Linked DNA regions of Homo sapiens: region 1 is linked to region 2. Evidence: promoter capture Hi-C in 16 types of primary human blood cells and fetal thymus (Javierre and others, 2016). All regions are on one chromosome and are shown on one strand. Each heading gives the region's core, a stretch centred on a gene start or on the middle of the fragment in contact. The rest is flanking DNA. Distances are from core to core; before and after follow the strand shown.

Evidence for each region. The method cuts DNA at HindIII sites, captures the fragments that hold promoters and counts their contacts. A CHiCAGO score of 5 or more calls a contact.
Region 1: a fragment that was not itself captured here is called in contact with the fragment with the promoter of C8orf34 in region 2 in 2 of 17 cell types (M2 macrophages and endothelial precursors); the score reaches 7.9 in M2 macrophages.

The regions. Positions count from the first base shown.
Region 1 is chr8:67,809,475-67,812,722 of GRCh38, reverse strand. No RefSeq gene overlaps it. Among named protein-coding and RNA genes, the nearest start is that of CPA6, 65 kb to the right of the region's middle. The HindIII fragment of the contact is 1,372 bases long and covers 751-2,122 here.
Region 2 is chr8:68,329,579-68,333,032 of GRCh38, reverse strand. C8orf34 (chromosome 8 open reading frame 34) reads right to left here and starts at 2,078. Exons shown (of 14, transcript NM_052958.4): 1 at 1,694-2,078. The coding sequence starts at 2,020. C8orf34-AS1 (C8orf34 antisense RNA 1) reads left to right here and starts at 1,542. Exons shown (of 3, transcript NR_038877.1): 1 at 1,542-1,726. The HindIII fragment of the contact is 3,988 bases long and covers 1-3,454 here.

The DNA.
Region 1 (3,248 bases), core at 187-2,686, 520 kb after region 2:
CTAGGCTGGTCTTGAATTCCTGGAGTCAAGCAATCCACCCACCTTGGCCTCTCAAAGTGTTAGAATTATAGGCATGAGCCATGGCGCCTGGCTGAGCTTTTATTTTACTAACACATCTTCTCTATCACTACCTTCCCTGGGAGAAAAGTTGAACTGCTGGAGCCACAAGATAACAAGACATATCTATATATAATTTTTTATCAAGAAAATATTTTATGATTTTTAGTACTTAGCAACACTCTCAATTTCCAGTGTAAATTAGTTTAACCATTGGGAAAGACAGTGTGGTGATTCCTCAAAGACCTAAAGACAGAAATACCATTCAATTCAGCAATCTCATTACCTGCTGTATACCCAAAGGAATAGCTCTTTCTGTCATAAAAATACATGTGTGCATATGTTCATTGCAGCACTATTCACAATAGCAAAGACATGGAATCAACCTAAATGCCCATCAATTATAGAGTGGATACAGAAAATATGACACATATATACCATGGAATACTATGCAGCCACAAAAAAGAATGAATCATGTCCTTTGCAGGAACATGGATGAAGCTAGAGGCCATTTTCCTTAGCAAACTTAGCAAATGCAGGAACAGAAAACCAAATACCACGTGTTCTCACTTATAACTGGAAGCTAAATGATGAGAACACATAGACTACAGGGGAACAACACACATGGGGGCCTATCAGATGGTGAAAAGTGGGAAGAGGGAGAGGATCAGGAAAAATAATGGCTACTAAGCTTAAAAGCTGGGTGACAAAATAATCTGTACAACAAACCCGCATGACACAAGTTTGCCTACATAACAAACCTGCTCGTGTACCCTGAACTTAAAATAAAAGTTTAGTTAAAAGATAAATAAAATGCATTTTTAAATAGAATACATAAAATTTAAAGAAAAAAATAAAAATGACTTGTATGGTCAAAGATGCAGCTGAGGGATTCCAAAATTCCCCAAAAATGTTATCTGCTGTCAACTCTCAGTTTTTCAGATATCGCTTCAAGTGTTGGAACAAAAGAAGTCAGCCCAAGCCCACTTTAAAAAAGCTAAGCCACGTGGGAAGGAGGGAAGGTATTTAAACATCTCCTTTTGTGACATGCACCATTTCTCTAGGCAGAGCGACCTCAAACAGTTCCAATGTGGTGTAATCAATTATGTAAATAAAAATTCTCAGAGAAGTATGGCTATTCTTCTATCTGTACTCATCAAGAATAACAGTATTAATAATTATAACTCAAAGCCCACTCCAAACTTCACAAAACATTCTAATAGTCTCAGTAATTTTAATAGTCTCAAGGCCAAGTAACCCTTGCCTCCTTCCTTATTCTCATAACCATGTGCTGATTTTGCCAAAAATGGAAATGCTTCTTTTCCAACGAATCTAGCCAATGCCCACCTTTGTGTATGAGGAATCAGCTGCCAACATGGTAGGAATTTATGGGTACAAAGAAAAGTATCTTCTTCCAAATCTTTCTGGTACCCCCGTCCCAGGAATTTAGGTTCTATTTCTTTGGCATAAGGGGTTTCTTCATAAACAAAGTGATAATAATAATAGGTACTCACTCTCTGCCAACAAGACAGAGTTGAGATGCATTCAAAGGAGCAGAAACTTAATGGTGCTGGCCACTGGCAAGAGAAGGAAGAATAAAACCTAAAAAGAATGTGGAAAAATGTTAAAGAACAGCTTGCTCACTACACAATTTTTCCAAGGGCCAACTCATTTCAAACCCTATAATTTACCTCTTCTTACCTATTAAAGTGAACATTATGAGATTTTAAAAGGTCTTCTTAGATAAGTAAACAGGCCACTCACCATATTAACCATGTTCTACCCATCAGGTAAATTGCTAACTGTGCAATTCATTGCTTGTAAAGAATAATTAGAAAAATGTTATAGCCGCCAGCAGCATTAAGGGCTCGAATGTTCTGCAAAAGTAAACATACCACTTGAAATGCCATAGAGCTTGGAGTGTGTGCGATACCCTGATAAGGTTTCTAAATGTCATTATTTATTACTGTTTTTCTACAAGGCAATATAGGAACAAAAATCCTTTTATAAATACAAAGGTACTTTCTCTAGGGATTTGGTTCAGGATCTATTTCACATCGAAGCTTGATTCAGAGACAGATATTACTTCCTAAAATTTTCAAGTAACACGATCCCCAAATATTTTACTTTTCAATCAAAATCCAAAATAATATTGTGTGTAGGAGATAATAGACCCTAAGCCAATAAGATGGAGGATGTCAGTAGTAATGCGTATCAGCATTGTTCATCGACCAAGTGCTTTGTCATCGTATCTGTGGCAGAGACTTTAGTTATTTCTAATATTCATGATATCCTTCTTATATAGTATTAACAAAATAATAAGTATTTTTAACAGAGGTCATAACTGCCCAGCAGAAGGTTATGTTTTTAAGACTGCACTTGCAACAAAAGTATGGGAACCTGGCTAACTTCTAGACATGGCAGCATGAATGGAAACGAGGTGTACAACTCTAGGTCTGGTCCTTAAAGGAAAAGCCACACCACTCACTTCCCCTCATCCAGTTCCCACTGACTTGGATTTGGAAATACTCATCGTAGGTCCCATGTGGAAGCTGAATGTTTAAAACTGTCATGCAATAAGATAGGAGCCTGGACTCTGAGGAAGGTACACCCACCATACCAAGCCTGAACTTCTCATTAGGACTTTTGCATTACAAAGAAATCAACTTTAATCTTGCTTCAGTGGCAATTATTTTGGATCTGCCATTAGCATCAACCCAAATCTCTCAATCCATCTTCACAGCAATCCTAAAAGGAAAATGCTATTTTCCGTCTTACAAATCAGGAAAAATTTTAAAGCCTGTTCTCCTGCCAGAACCATTAGCTGACAACCCTAAGTTGAAAACTCAAAACCAACTTTCCGCTATACCATTGAAACCCTTACCAGGCTGAGACAGTGTAACTCTAGGCCTAGGTTTTTATGACCTGGGAACATCTGTGTTTCTCTCGTTTCAGCCTCAATTTTGTTACCTGTAAAGTCTTGTGCCACGCTAGGAATTTAAAGTAAAATAGGATTAATACAGAAATTTTATCATTCTTACATATTATCATTCTTACAAAAGTCTGAAAGCTCTGAAATTGCTGCCACTGGATTTTGGGTTTTAAGGCCACATCAACCTTAGATGTCGTCAGGAAATCCCTGCTTCTACTGTGAACCCCGCCGCCACCAAAACTTCACATCCATGGAGAGG
Region 2 (3,454 bases), core at 829-3,328:
GAGAGTAGAGAGAAAACACACACTCTAAATGTATGTATTTTATGATTCTTTCGATGCAATTAATACACTGCGTTGCAGAAGGTTTTAGGCTTCTGCCTTTAAAAAAATTATATAGGATTATGTATAATCAATAATCATTAAACTAAAGGCAAAGAAAAGAAATCTGGTAGTTCCATCAATTTTATTTCGCTCTTGCATGGATTGCCTTTGTTAACATTTTTGGCAGAAAAAAGAATCAAAGCAATTGTAGGACTCTGCACCCCACAATGCGAGCTTCAATTGAAACAATGGTCTTATCGTCTAAGACAGATCAACGTTAAAGTTGGGCAAAAAAACTTAGGAGATCTTGCAAATCTTGTTATGTGAAACCCGTCCTCCCAAAAGACCTATTGGACCACACCTTTGTCCTCCGCGCCCTTTTTTTGCAGGGTCATTAACTCGCATTATTTTTTTGTTCTCCACAGTTCTCACTTGCTTCTCTTCAGTCTTTGCTAGGTTTTCCGCGATCTCCAGTGCAGCCCCTTCCACTTGCCGCGATTCTGCCTCTCTCAGACACTGACACGTAACCTCCTCCCCATACCAAGCCCTCACCCCAAACCAAGCTGTTAAGAACAGCTACAACTGCTTCTGGGAGACGTGGGGGGCGGGGGCAAGGCGGGGGCAAGGCGGGGGCAAGGCGGGAGCACCTCGACCCTCCCGCGAACTCTCGCCGCCGGTCAGTGCCCCCTGAACTGGATGGGACCAAGGGAGTCCCTCCGCAAGGGCCTCCACTTCTGACTACGGTCCGCACGCCCCACCCCTGCTCAGCACCCTGGCAACCCGCGGGACGCTTTGCTGGTGCCAGGCTTCAATCTCTTGTTCTCATTTTCTCGTGTCCTCGCGCTCTTCCTTCTACTGTATTTTTGTCTTAAATTCTTTAATGGCGAGAGAGAGAAAAAAAAACAAAACCAGCTCAGAGCTATAGTCTTCTTCCACAAATACGTGTGTGCTTTTCAGAACCTTTCTCCGTCCCTTTCTCCTGCTAACACATGTGGGGTCTGCAGTGCAAAGGACTCTCCTTTCGTCCAGTGACCAAATGGCAGTCTCTCAGTTTGCCAATTTCATTCATCACGCCCGCACCGACTGAAGCCTACTCCTCACCAGTTCAGCTGTCTTCCAGTTAATTGTATTAACTGCTAAGCACCTCCTCCACCTTTTCGGGTTCTATTACCGCCCTCATTAAAAAAAAAAAAAAAAAAAAAAAAAAAAAGAAGGAAAGAAAAGAAAAGAAAAAAGAAAATCCAACACGAACACTCAAGATAGCGTGAATTCAAAAAAGAAAGTGTGCGTGTGCAACACAGTCTGAGTGTGTGCATCCGTATGCGTCGCCTGCCTCAGCCTGCCCGGGTCCTGAACATGTAGCTGAGAGGTGCAGGACAGTCAGAGGGCCAAAACTTCCCCTGCCAGGCTGAGGCTGGGCCCTCCCGAGCTCACCTGTCCGCGTTCAGGTAACTGGCTAAGTGCCCGCCCGGCCGCGTTCCAGGACACCTGGCCGGGACAGAGCGAATGCCAGTGAATCCCAGGGCGCCCTCTCCCGCGCGTTGGTTCTCTAGCCCTCCTTCCCTGGGAGGGGTGGGATTGGGAGTGTTCTGTTTTCATTACTGCACCCCTTCCCCTAAAGACAACGGGACTGCCCTCCTCCACAGCGCCTTACCTCAAACAGGGGACCGATCTTGTTCTTCTCCAGGTAAGCCTGGATCCGGGTTTGCGGATGAGACGCCATGGGGAACAGATGGGACCGCGAAGAGAGTGCAGGGAGAACGCGCGGCTGTGCGCCTCCGCTGGGGACAACCCTCCTTTTACCCGGACTGGGGCCGGGACAGGAGCTCCGGAGCCTCGGCTGCCCTGCGTGGCTGGCTCGGCCCCGGCCGCGGGCGTGGGTGGCAGCCCGGGGAGCCACGCGCGCGTGGGGCGCTGAGAGCCGGAAGCCTGGGCGCAGCGCCGCCAACTCAGACAACTCCGAGGCGAGGGGAGAACTCATTCATCGCGTTCTCCGCCTCGCGCCCACCCTCGCCGCTCTCCGCAGCGCCCGGCGCAGTGGGGAAATTCGAGGCAGAGGTTCCTTTCTCCTCTGGGCGGCAGCAGCAGGAATCAGGGGGCGGGAGGCGAGCTGTGTCGAGGGGCGCACGCGGGCGGACAGGGGCCGCGGGGCTCGAACTCGCCACCGGTGTGTGTGCGTGCGTGCGTGTGTGTGTGTGTCCGTGCGCGCGCGACTGTGTGTACCTCCTTTCCCCGGTGACGGAACAAACAGCCCGGGCTGCTCCCCGAGGCTGCTCGCCCTACCAGCCGCTCCCTAGCGACAGCGCCGCTTAAAAAGCCAATGGTGAAGGTGCTTCTTTCAAAGTGCACATAAATCTGGTGCTTGTTGGCTACTCCTTGGCAGCTACAAATGCAGTTCGAAAGGGGATCGTCCCCACCGCCCCTTCTGAGCCTCTCCTCAGCACCTTCTGCCCTGCCTACTCTAGCGCAGGGGTTGAGAAGGGCAGAGTTTTGAGAAGGTGCGTGGGTTTAAGGGTTTGCCGCGAAAAAGAAGTTGCCTTCCTTTTCAAAATCTGGTTTGGCCTGGAGCAAGTCGACGGGTGAACGCAGCCTGAGAACCCAGCTGAAAACTCTCAAAGTGCAGGAGCTCAAAGGCTGGAACCAGCCTTTCAGCATTTGACAGGGAGAAGAGAAATGAGCGAGCCAGCCCTCCCCTCCAAAGTTGGCCTTCCTAATCCACGCCTTGAGTCATGTCTGTATACCTATAACTGCATCTCAGACACCACACTATCCCACTTCATAATGTTTCCTCTAGATACTGCGTGAGCTGCTCAAATTTAGCCAATACCTTTCTTATTATGCAGGGATTTCCGAGTCGAAGGTTTGCAGATAGCCCAGGCTTCCTCACAGAGCTCTCTTTCTTGTGAAATACAATACTAAGGTCCCAATGACAATTTCCCTGGCTCCTAACCATGATGTGCTGCCAAAATTAGATTTATTTCTAATAAATATAAATTTTCAGAATGATGGAAACAGTTTTCCTAAAAGCTGACTGCAGCAGTATATATTTTTTTCTTTCTTTCTTCACTGTGTTCTGGATTTCTGTTACTCATAGTTTCTTTATTGGTGTTCATGTTTTCCTTCTGTATTTTAAATATGTGGAAACATGTAATAGATAAGTGTGGAATATCCCAGGAACTATTATTAATTTCATGCATTAAGACATAAGAAATCTGCTAGAATAGCTAGGAGCTTAACCATCCCTGATAACCTGAAATGGACTTGATCCAGAGTGGAAAGATGTCCACATTAATACTTTTACAATCGGACTCATATGATCTGCCTAGGGAGGGTTAAGTTAAATAGCAGTGAGGTGTCCAGGGTTGCCTCGTGCTTTCCATTTTGGTTCGAAGGTATATTTACTTATGTATTTTTT